Linked DNA regions of Homo sapiens: all the other regions are linked to region 2. The links are contacts of gene promoters, found by promoter capture Hi-C in human tissues and cell types (Jung and others, 2019). All regions are on one chromosome and are shown on one strand. Each heading gives the region's core, a stretch centred on a gene start or on the middle of the fragment in contact. The rest is flanking DNA. Distances are from core to core; before and after follow the strand shown. Region 1 has its middle 84 kb from the start of RNU105B. Region 2 holds the start of PLCB4 (phospholipase C beta 4). Region 3 overlaps PLCB4 (phospholipase C beta 4).

What was found. Contacts are between HindIII fragments. The study calls those that stand out against the background at their distance.
Region 1: a contact is called between a fragment that was not itself captured here and the fragment with the promoter of PLCB4 in region 2, in 2 of the 25 tissues and cell types used here (H1 embryonic stem cells and stomach).
Region 3: a fragment that was not itself captured here is called in contact with the fragment with the promoter of PLCB4 in region 2 in 1 of the 25 tissues and cell types used here (dorsolateral prefrontal cortex).

Annotation. Positions count from the first base shown.
Region 1 is chr20:8,913,036-8,916,952 of GRCh38, reverse strand. No RefSeq gene overlaps it. Among named protein-coding and RNA genes, the nearest start is that of RNU105B, 84 kb to the right of the region's middle. The HindIII fragment of the contact is 4,398 bases long and covers 1-3,649 here.
Region 2 is chr20:9,067,837-9,072,157 of GRCh38, reverse strand. It overlaps PLCB4 (phospholipase C beta 4), which reads right to left and starts at 3,071. Exons shown (of 40, transcript NM_001377142.1): 1 at 2,952-3,071. The HindIII fragment of the contact is 12,704 bases long and covers 374-4,321 here.
Region 3 is chr20:9,255,199-9,259,294 of GRCh38, reverse strand. The region is part of intron 3 of PLCB4 (phospholipase C beta 4); the gene reads right to left. Among named protein-coding and RNA genes, the nearest start is that of PLCB4, 190 kb to the right of the region's middle. The HindIII fragment of the contact is 6,822 bases long and covers 1-4,096 here.

The sequences.
Region 1 (3,917 bases), core at 201-2,700, 150 kb after region 2:
AGACAGAATCGCATAGGACCTCTAGAAGTGATTTATCATTTCATTTATTATGCATTAACTGAGCACCTACTATGTGCCATTCACATTACTAGGCACTGGCATATGAAGACTAAAATGGTATATGATTGATCAAGAGCTTGCACTCAGGTAGGAGAAAGAGGCAAGTAAATTAATAGATGCTGCTAGCATGCAATTAGAGAGATGTGCATGTTGAGTGCAAAAAGGAGAATCTAAATTGTGCCAATTAGGCTTCTGGGAAGAGCAAACTCTTGGGAAAATATTTTACAAAGTTACAGAACATTATTTAGTCTGAGAAATGGGGTAGTGGATGGGGATAATTCTGGTAGAGAAAAAAATATGTATTTAAAGACAGAGCTGTGAAATCATATGACATGCTCTGATTAGAGCAGTGGAAAAGAAAGTCATAGGGGTAGTTTAGTTTAGGCCTTAGTTACCAAGCTAAGAGTTTAGCAGAGGAAAGGAATAACAAGACATGTGTTTCAGAAAGCTTATTCTTTTTTTATTTTTTATTTTTTATTTTTTGAGGTGGAGTCTCACTCTGTTGCCCAGGCTGGAGTACAGTGGTGCGACCTCAGCTCACTGCAACCTCTGCCTCCCGGGTTCAAATGATTATCATGCCTCAGCCTCCAGAGTAGCTGGGACCATAGTCACATGCCACCATGACTGGCTAACTTTTTGTGTTTTTAGTAGAGATTGATTTTCACCATGTTGGCTAGGCTGGTCTTGAATTTCTGACCTCAGGTGATCTACCTGTCTTGGCCTCCCAAAGTGCTGGGATCACAGGCATAAGCCACTGTGCCCAGCCTCAGAAAGCTTATTCTGCAAGCACTGTGGGACGGATTGTTTGGGGCAGGGTGAGGCTGAGGTCTTTACCAATGGTGATGTGGTATGGGGGTGGGGAGGAAGAGAATGCAGACTAACACAATGCTTGGGAGATGTTAATGGAGAATGGGGAATGAACTTGGAGATTAATTGTGTATGGGTAAGAGGAAGTCCATGGTGAGTCCCAGCTTCTGCACAGAATAGTTTGGATGATAGACAAGGATCTAATTCACTTGAATATGTTTGGAAAAGGATTGTGGGTTTAACGACAAGCATATTTAAGGGGGCTGAAGAATTGGTGGATATCCAGGTAAAGAGATATTTAATAGACCTTTGCATATAGGTTTGAAACTCAGGATAAAAAGCATGTCTAGAAACATTGACTTGGGAATTTTTAACGTATATGTGATAGTTCAGTTTGGATGAAGGTCCCAATGAAAATATATAGAATGAGAATAAGAACCAAATAGAGAATTCTGAGATGTGCTGGAATTTGGAGATCAAGGGAAACATGAAGATTCTGGAAAAAAATTATAGTGAGAAGGATAGCCAGAGAGATTTAGGGGGAGAAAAAGAGGTAATGGAAAAGGAGGTATCAACAAAGGAGCGGTCAATCATGTCAAACCTTGCAGCAAGGTCAAGGAAGCCAAGGGCAGAAAACATCATTGGTTTGGTAGCTAATCCATTTGTCACTTAACAGGTGCATTTTCTTTGGCCTGGTGGGAACAGAAGCCGGACATGAAAAGGCAGTGAGTAAATGAGAGACGAGAAAGCAGAGGGAGCTAAGAAGCTTGGCTAGGGAGAAAATGAGAGAGCACGGACTCATGGAAGCAATTGTGAGATTGAAGGAATTGGTTTTGTTGTAAAGATTGGAAAGGATTTAATTACATTGACTCACCTTCTACTCAGGATCTGTAAAAGGAACGATGGAGAGTGAGAACAACTCTGAGTTTGTCTCTACAGTAGGAGAGGCTGGGGTCCAAAGAAGGAACACAAGAATTCACCTTGGCCTTGAAAACATTATGCGAGGTGAAAGTGTAATTTCCTGATAGGCTCTTCTTGCCTGATGCACAGATGGAGCTATTCGCTGAGACAGTGGTATTGCAGTAGAGAAAGAGTTTAATAAACACAGAGCTAGCCAGATGGAAGAATGGGAGTTTATTACTCAAATCAGCCTATCCAAAAGTTCAGAGGCTAAAGTTTTTCAAGGATAGTTTGGTGGGCAGGGGGTTAGAGAATGGACAATGCTGACTGGTTGGGTTGGGGATGAAATCATAGTGGATGGAAGCTGTCTTCTTAGGCTGAGCCATTTCCTACATGGGGGTCACAGGGCCAAGTTGAATCAGATCCTTGGTATGGGTAGTTAATCAATTGCCAGAATGAAAAATAATGAAAAATATCTCAAACACCAGTTTCAGGTTTTGCAACAGCAATGTTATCTGTAGGAGCAATTAGGGAAGTTACAAATCTTGTGACCACCCATATGAGACCCCTGAGCAAACACAATGACTAGTTATCTTTTAACTATAAGCAGGTCTTAGCAAAATTCAGACCTCTCCCGTAATTCTAATTTTGTGGCTTCTCATTAGTTTTATAAAGGTGGTTTCAGTTCCCAAACAAGGAGGGAGTAGTTTTGGGAAGGAGCTATTATTATCCTTGCTTTATGGTTAAAACATGAACTAAATTCCTCCCATAGTTAGTTTGGCCTATGCTCAGGAATGAGCAAAGACAGCTTGTAAGGTTAGAAGCAAGATGGAGTCAGGTATATCAGATTTCTCTCATTGACTTAATTCTGCAAAGGTGGTTTCCATGGAAGCCAGATACAAAAGGCCACATAATGCACGATTCTATTTGTATAAAATGCTACAATAGGCAAATCTATAGAGACAGAAAGTAGATTAGTGGTTTTCAGGGGCTGTTGGGAGGGGAGAATTATGAATGACTGCTAATGGTATAGGGTTTTTGTTTTTTGTTTTTGAGAATTTGGTAGTGGGGATGGTTGCACAACTTTGTGAATATACTAAAAATCACTGCATTGTACACTTTAAATGGATAAATGTGATGGTGTGTGAATTGTATCTCAATTTAAAAAAACTTAAAAGGAAAAAAAAAGAATTCTCTTTGGTTGGAGGAGAGCCTTCTTAATCCTGAGGCAGGAATGCCAAGAGGAGTATAAATGACATGTTTCTATTGGCAGGAGGCAGGGCCAGCTACATGATTTGTGGGATTCAGTGCAAAATGAAAATTGAGGACCCCTTCTTCACAATGATTAAGAATTTCAAGATAGTTACTGCAGAGCATTAAAGCAAGCACAGGGCTCTTCTAAGTGTGGGGCTGAGAAGACCCTTAGAAACCTTGTGTGGTTACACAGGTTTTGCACATTTATGAACTAGCCCTGGAGGAGGCAGAGCTCTCCAGATGGGCTTTCTTATGGAAATAAGAAGTGAGAGGAGGTACTAAAGCTGCTGAAATGAGAGAAAGGGTGACATTTGGAACTGTCCTTGAGGGGAATTAGAGAGAAAATCAACTATGGACTTGAAAGAGAGTTACCAGGCAAGGAAGAAAGCTAGGCATTGGTTGGAGAGCATGAATTTGTAGGAGTATCACTGTGATTTTTCACCATTGGTTCTCAAAAGACCAAATATAGAACTTAAAACAATGAGGAATGGTAGGAATAAAGTTTATCTGGGCAAATGTGATTGAAGATTAAAGGAACAAAGGAATAAAAGTTAATGATTAAACTAATTGAAATTAATAGATTTCAATTAGCTATTGAAAGAGGATGGGTTAGGGAAACTATCACCCTTAGAAGGTGCTCATATAATGCCTGGAAGTAGAATGGCCTATGGAGTTAAAATTAAAATGAAGTCCAAATGTAGAGAAATTGGAAGAAAGAAATGAAAGTCAAAGGATTATGGACTGTCATGGGATTTTTGGAATTTAAGATTTTAGGTGTGGAGTTCTGAGTTTTGTTAAGTTCAAGATCCAATTCTGTTCAGTTAAGGCTGCCTGAAATGATAATGACTCACAAAGCATCAAGATTCAAAAAAAAATTAATCTTAAGATCTAATTGG
Region 2 (4,321 bases), core at 1,822-4,321:
CCACCAGCGATGAAAAGCTGTATTTATTTCCCAACAGGCAGATAAGTCTCCTTGACAGACACTAATATGGCCTACACATTCATATATTATGAGGTGAAAAGCAACTATTTTAAAAACTTCAATCTGGACATAAAATACCAACTGTGATCATTAAAGCATCTCCATTAGTCCTTGACCTAATTTTGCATATCAAATACAGAAGTTCTTGGTTTTACAGGGACTCAACTGTGGTAGATAGACAGTTTATTAAAAGACCTGGGTCGGCGGTGCTAATCAACATGCTGTTTCACCCTTACTTTATAAGTGATCACAAACAAAAATTTAGTCACAGCCTGCTAAATAATTTTAAGTTTCAAAGAAAATTTATACTTCCTCAAAAATAGTTTACTATTAAGTGTGGAGAGCATGAGAAATCCAAAATCTTTCTTACATTACCTAAGTGCTCTAATCCGAAAAGATAAAATTTACTCTCAAGATTTCAAAATAAAAAATCAAACTCAGCTAATTACTAATTTTTTTTAATAATCTGCAAAATTTTTTCATTAATTCTGTTATTTGAGTTTTCCAGCTACATCTGAAAAACTGGGGATGAAAATTCAGACACTAAACTCAGAAGCTAATTTCACTTATATTGTTACATCCTTTCACAAATTAGCATGCTAATGTGATCACAAGGAAAACAGCACAGCAGCCCTGAAGCTCACTTTTACCTCAATTTTACTTAGAGGGTGAGGTAAAGATGAATACCAGGCAAACATTTCAATTCTTAATAAATCAAACCCCAAAATGAAGTTAGTGGTATCTTAGGAAAATACCATGTTTACTGAAATTGCCAAATATAACTGTCCCATGTTGCCAAAGTCAGCAGTATACATTAATCTAAAGACAGTTGTGTGTAATCTTGGGAAAGGCAAACTAGCTGTGCTACGGGCACTGAATGGACTCTGCTGTGGTTGAAATATTTCAGAGGTGATACAAATTTTTAAAATCTTTTCCTGCAAAAGGTTTTTGGTAACCTGTAACACTTTTTCAACTACCATATTTCTTTATCTCATAAGGCAAAAACACACCGCCTCACGATTCCAGGACATGTAAGCAGTTTAACATCACTCACATTTTCAGGCATATAAATATAAAACTTCCAATAGAGTATTTTAGAACAAAGCTTTCTGCGTGGGTATGCATTTGCAAAATAAAGGTAGAGTTATTCCGACAGATTTAAATGTGCACCCAGTGATCAAATGGAGTTAGAAATTCTGTTTTGACAGTTACTTGTAGAACAGCATTTTCAACAGCGATTAATTCAGAGCTGGGTAGTAATACCATCAAAACTAAGTTCCAACTGTTGAGTAATAATATAGTTGGAAGGAAGTGTAGTCCATAAGCTAATACATGGTACCTTTAGATATGTTATAATACGTCACATTCAAAAGGTTACTCGTCTGGCAGCAAGTCTTACGTTCATAAAAGTGCCAATAAAAATGTTTTGCCATTTCAAAAAGTGATTTTTTATGAAAACAGGTGCTCTCCAAAGATGGCAATCATTTATTAAACTACTACAGTTCAAAAGGAAGATGATATAATAGATCAATACACCAGCTAAGGATCATGCAAGACTGTCCTATGAAAAACAGCATTCTGGATTACATAACACAGATAGTGAGGGATTACACCACATGCCCCTGCTGAGCTAGACTTTTGATCTTCTGTATGATTCTATAACTGAGGCCACTCAAATTTGAAGAGTATAAAATATGAGGGTCTCAGTTCAACCACACATTTCTGAAAACAGCCGTCTTGAAAACAATAAAAGAATAAAGTTAAAATTTTACCTTCCCCCGCAACACACACACAATTTTTCTATTCTGAAAAACACAGTTGTTCAGATACTTTCTTAACCTCCTTGGAGCCTCCCCAGGTAAAGTCACCAGTTGCTTTTCCTGGTCATGTTTACATTATAAATCTGATTTCTCTTTAAGGGGAAATTCAATATCATTTTAAAATGATACATAGCTGCCTATGTTTGAATAACGTTATTTCCAGACAAAAAGAATTATTAAACAGCTATCTCCACATACCTATAACTTAAATATATAGACCACTAAGTATTACGTATATGGAAAAAAAAACACCTTTCCTGAATATTCTGGCCAAAATTAAATTTCAAATACATGTTTTAGAACAATAGCTAGAATCACTACAGAAGTTAAGAGGAAAAAAAGTTGGAAGAGTAGGGTCATCTTTCAGATATATCCATATTTATGGAAACTATAGTGGGCAGTTGTATTTCTCTCTAGGAAAATGCTAGTTTTATGATTCTAGATAAAGTTGCACTTAAACACACTTGGAAATTAGAGAATTCCATATTTCCATACTTCGATTCAGTACCATATACGAAGTCTACACTCAGAAGTATTGTACTATACAGAGTCTAATTGGTTAAAGCAAAAGCAACTTTAAAATTCTGAAAATAAGGATTTCCTTCACTAACAGGCTTTTAGGAGGCCCGAACCCTGCCCCCAATGAGTGCTAAGCCTGTCAGTGTTGTTTTAAGTGGAAACGGTCAATCATTTCTATGATTTCCCCAGAAGAGGCAAGAAGATCCACACGCATACACATTTACATGCGTTGCACGGTGCCAACTATTTCCAACCAAAATAATCATATACACGTCGAGCCGAGCTATTTCTAGCCCAGAAGAGGGTGAACGTCTGGAGAGAGTCTGAGGAAACCCAGCAGGCGATGACTGCAGGGGAAGGGGGATGGCGTCTGGGTCCCCTGCCTCCCGCGCGCACAGGGCGCCTGGCACCCGGCACCTGCACGGGGTCCCCGCTGGGCATCCGGGTGCGCGCGCGCGCGCGTCCGGGACGCACCCGCGGAAAGCAAACAAGCCCTGAGGGCCAAGGCGGGCGGGAGCATCCTCGGGCGGGACCCGAAATGCCTTTTCCTACCTGTCACTTTGCCTGGAGCTGCTGCCGGGGATGCGGCGACGGCCGCTGCCTGGAGACCCAGTGTGTACGCGCGTGTGTGTGCGCGCCCGTGTGTGCGTGTGCGTGTGTGTGTCTGTGTGTGAGAGATCTTGTTGGCGGTGCAGCTCACTTACTGCTCCCGGCGCGGCGCCACCACCCCCTCCTCGCCATAAAGAGCCGCCGCCAAGCCCCCTCCCGGCGCACCCCAGTCCCGCCCTCCCGCCTGCCTCCGCACCCCCTCCCTGGCCTCCCCGCCTCCCCGTCTCCGCGCCGCGCGGTCCTTACCTCAGTTGAGGGCGGGGGTCTCCGCCGTGGCTCCCCAGCGAGCCCACGGGGCAGCGCCGACCCGCCCGCCCACCGCCGGGCCCTGCGCGTCCCCCGCTCCGGGCCCCGCCGCCCCTCAGCGGCCAGCCGCTTCCTCCTCCCCTGCCCCCGAGCCTCCCTCCTCGTTCTCGCCTCCCGGCTCCAGAGCCCGAGCTGTCGCCTCGCAGCCCCAACCTGCCCAGGCTACGGAGCATGCCCAGTGCGGCGCGCCGGGCTGGGCTGGGGGTGGGCAGGGGCCGGGCCGGCCGCCCAGTTGCCGCGAGCCCGCAGGGCGAGGAGTGGGCGCCGACTGGGTCGGGGGCGCAGCCTCGCGAGCCGGGGGCCGAGCAGCCGAGGCAGGTGGTGGGCAGCGCCAAGAGGAGGTGGGTGGGGCATCCGGGGAAGCCGGCCCGCGGCGCGCTCCTCTGGGGTCTCCCTGGCGGCTCCCCGCGGCATGTGCCCCATGCCCAAGGGTCGGGGGCGCACGGGATGGCGCTGGGCGCAGAACCCAGGGAGCGGGGGCAGAAAAGCGGCACCCTCCTCGGATGGGAGACCCGCAGCCCGCCGTGGGCCGTGTGGAGGGGCTCAGGACTGGCCAGAACGGGGCCCCCAAAGCCGTTGGCTGGGTGGGGGACGTGCTTATTTGTTTATATTCGGTTTCATAAACCCATACAGCGCCTACAATGCGTCCTGCAGTGTTCTAAACGCTTTTTATTCATTTAATCCCTAAAACAATCTTCCAAAGAGTACTACTGCCTCTTTTTATTTCGCGGGTCTTACACAGAGCCACAGAGATTAAGTGGTTCCAAAAAGTCTTCCCACAAGTGCAACCTCAGACATGCAAATCCCCCAGACTTTGGTCCCTGGGATGCTGGGGTGCTGCTCCAGCCAGTTCCTGGCTTTTCCCGGCCCTACAACGGCCCCCAGGTGCCTCCGAGTCACACTCACACCCAGGCCCTAATGGTGTTCGGTCTGGCATCACCCTTGTGTGGACCCTCACAACGTGCTGCTCCCGAACTCCGGAGGGCTCCCTCCTCCCCACTCCGCCT
Region 3 (4,096 bases), core at 1,312-3,811, 190 kb before region 2:
TCTCTGCAGAAACAAGTGGTAAGTATAAATGCAGAGAGAAAGCCATGCAATATTATCACTAAAGTTGTGCTGCTCAAAAAACATTAACAAAGAAAAACTGAGAAGAAGGAGCCCTCTTAAACAGTATAAACTACATCCACTCACTCAGACCATTCCATTTCATCACACTTCCTGTTAGGGAAATGTCATTTGCTTTTAGGATTTCTGAGTTCCCCAAAAATCCTATTGTAATTTTGCCAACTTTTTGTTCTGCTTTAAAAGATTTGCCAAATAACTATTGTCTTAGATTTTTTTTATTGCATTCCTTGGTCTAGTTTTTCCACCTGGTCTCGAAACCCATATTTCCTTCTTTTGTTTTATTGAGCTTACACTGCATTAATTCTTTTAGGAATGATCTGGGGTGATCAAATAATGTAGATCTTACTTGTCTGAAAATGTGTTTATTTCACCTTCCTGGTAAATGTGCAGTATGTCTGAGAACAAAATTGCAGGTTCAGAATAATTTTACCTCCAAACCATGAAGTCATTCCCTTGTCCTCTAGTCCTCTAGAAATTATCTTTTTTTTTTTTTTTTTTTTTTGAGAGGAAGTCTAGCTCTGTCACCCAGGCTGGAGTGCATTGGCGGGATCTTGGCTCACTGCAACCTCCGCCTCCCGAGTTCAAGCGATTCTCCTGCCTCAGCATCCTGAGTAGCTGAGACTACAGGCACACGCCACCACACCCGGCTAATTTTGGTATTTTTAGTAGAGACGGGGTTTCACCATGTTGGCCAGGATGGTCTTGAACTCCTGACTTCATGATCCACCCACCTCGGCCTCACGAAGTGCTGGGATTATAGGCATGAGTCACCATGCCCGGCCTAGAAATTATCTTTGTGGTCAACTTTCCACCCCACTCCCATTTCTGGACTCTTTTAACATCCTCTCCTTTTCCTTGCTATTCTGAAATATCGTGAAAATGTGTTTAGTTACTGGTCCACTCAAATTCTTTTTCTTATCACTTATCAAGTGATTATACATGCATATTATCTAACATTTACATAAAAATGTGAATAATGTTATTTAATTTTCCAACTCAGATGGAAAACAAGCTGCTAACACTAGAGATACTTTAAAAGACATGCTGCCCAGGGGAGATGATGATCCAATGCTAAATTAAAACATCTGTGTGTGTGCGCATCTTTATTTCCTCCACTTTTTTTCCCCTCTATTAGAAGATGTAGGACCACGTGGAATGATTCTCTAATGTCTCCACTTTCATTAATTTTTTTTTCCAACTCTTGGTTCTTTGTTCTGTTTTCTAGAAAAGTTCTGCATCTTTTCTTTCAGCTAATATGCTGTTTTTAAAAGTCAACAATCAGACTTAATTTCCAAGAATCCCTTCTTGCTCTTGAAGTCCTCCTTTTCATAGGAGTCTGTCCACAACTCCCTGATAAAATTTAAATTTATTTTAAAGTTCCATCTCTTCTCTGATTTCTGTTTCTTCTGAATCAGTTGGTAAATTTGTTCATGTTAAAATTTATATTTTAGTTATCTACTTTTCCCAATACTGTTGATTCTGGTTCGTTCAGTCCTGTTAGTGAAAGATCTCGAAGCCAAAAGGAAGGAATCTTGGTCCAAATATGTATCTATGTGGCTTCTTCATTTGTACCCATCAAAATGAAGATCTTTCCATTTCTGGCCAAGTCAGGAATAGTTTTTGATGAGCCTGTCATCTTGGAAGCCCAAAGAACCATGAAACATTTGGATTAAAATTTGGCTTTCTTACTGCAGTTTTCAGAATTATAGCAGATGAGGGTCTATCGTACATTATTTCAGGGTCAAGATTTATCTGGGCAATAAAGGGTTATAGTTCTACATAATTATATGGCTACATTGAAACAGATTCTAGAATTAATTTAGTATTATAATTAGTTGAAGAAAATTTCACTCACATTTAAAGCTTAACCAATAAATGAATGTATTTATTTTCACACTATTCTCACTTGTGTCATTTTAGGACATTCTACTAAAGCAAAAAGACACAATTAAAATCATGCAGTTACCTCCATCCTTTCTTATTATGGTAGTCTACACCAAAGAAAGAGCAAGTTACATGCCCTGTTTCCAGAAACAGAATAAATACTACCTCTAGGAGGAAAGGAAGTATCCCAAGATATTCAAGTTAAGAACTAAAATGATCTCTGTGTGCCTATTTAATTGCTCTTCTCTCATACCTGTATCAGATCTATATTTTAAGAAAGTTACTGAGTAACTGTTTCTTCTTAAGATTCTCTGAGTTCATAAAATCTTGCTCTTAGATGGAATCATCCTCCATGAGAACAATCACTTGCCCACAAACCTCAATGTGCAAGTTGCCTTCCATTTATGTCAACTTCACTCTTCCCTCAAGCCTTGCTACTCAGCATACTAGAGTCACATGTAAACAAAGTCCTCCAAAACTAAAATCCTCAGGAAAATAGGAAAATGTATTTCTGAAGAAAACCATTCTCAAGTAATTATATATGCACATTATACAACATTTACATAAAAATGTGAATAATGTTATTTAATTTTCCAACTCAGATGGAAAACAAGCTGCTAACACTGGGGATACTTAAAAAGATATGTTCCTCAAGGGAGAAGACAATATGATGTTAAGTATCTGTAACGAAATATAACAGCCACCAAACAAGAACAGATGCCTCAGCAGATGGTGTGCAACTTGCCCACCCAACATCCTTTCTCCTGTTTTTACAGGGTGATGAAAATGAATCCAACTAAAAATACTTGCTTCCTGAGTCTTCCTTACAATTAGGAGTAGCCTTGTAACCTTGTTTAGCCGACAAGAGGAATGTCGAGATTTGCAGGGGTAAGTTTCTACTTCTCTAAGAGAGACAATTCTCCCTGCTTTCTTTTTTTCTCCTTGCTGGGAGTGTGCATTTGACACTGGAGGTACAGGATGTATCTCGCAACCATGAGACAATGAGCATCAGGGTGAAGGCTCATCAACTAAGGATGCTGGAGAATAAACATGGACAGAGTCTGGATCCCTGAGGGAATCACTTAGCTCTTGAACCAGCTCTGGACTGCCTACCTCTGATCTTGTTACAAGGGACAACAAAGAAGCTATGTGTTCCAATGCTTTGCTGTTCACAAAACTCATTCCTGATTAACGCACTAGCAATATCTGAACCTTAGTTGCCCCTCCAGACATATGTATACGAGAACTTTAATGCTTGACCATAATAGAGATGACTTTCTCCTTTATAAAACTTCCTTTAAATCTTAGGTACACACTCTTGATCCCTTACTAAACACTCTTCAAGTCTGAAATATTTCAGAATTCAGAAAGGTAATATGGTGTGTGTATATATATATATATGTTATGCAATAGTCCCAACAGATCTGAGTATCACCTTTTAGTCTAGGCAGTTGACAAACTATGGTCAATGGGCCAAGTCCAGCCTGCCACCTATTTTTGCAAATAAAGACTTATTTGCACTCAGCCACAACTTCATTTATGTACTATCTATGTCTGCTTTCATGCTACGAATGCAGAGTTGAGTAGCTGCAACAGAGATGGTATGGTCCACAAGGCCTAAAATAATCACTATCTGGCCATTTACAGAAAATGTTTGTGGATCCTTATCAAATACATAGGTATTTATGGAGTGAAATCTATGGCTATTCACTCTAAGTGGGATAAATAAAGATTATATATTACCATCTGTTGGTTTGGGCATGATTTTGCCATTAAATTTATGCTAAACTTACAAAAAAAAAAAAAAACTAAGTTCAAAGTTTTACTGCTTCCAGAATAAAGAAAAAAAAAAGACTGAAGACCTGTAGTAGAGAGGAGAGACAAGTTAATTAGGCTGGTTTAATCCACCATGGAATGTTCAACTCAATGGCTAGTTCTTTAATGTCTAAAAGCCCAGCACGCCTACAAAATCCTATTGGCTGAGGGCCTCAAGGAATAAAGAGGCAGCATACTGCAGTGAAAAGAACAGAAGCTAACAAGAAGAATGACTTTGAATCTTACAATTCTTATGACTTTGGGTATATACTGCTTTTCTCTGAGTGTTTTCAAATCTGTCAAATGAAACAAAAGTATT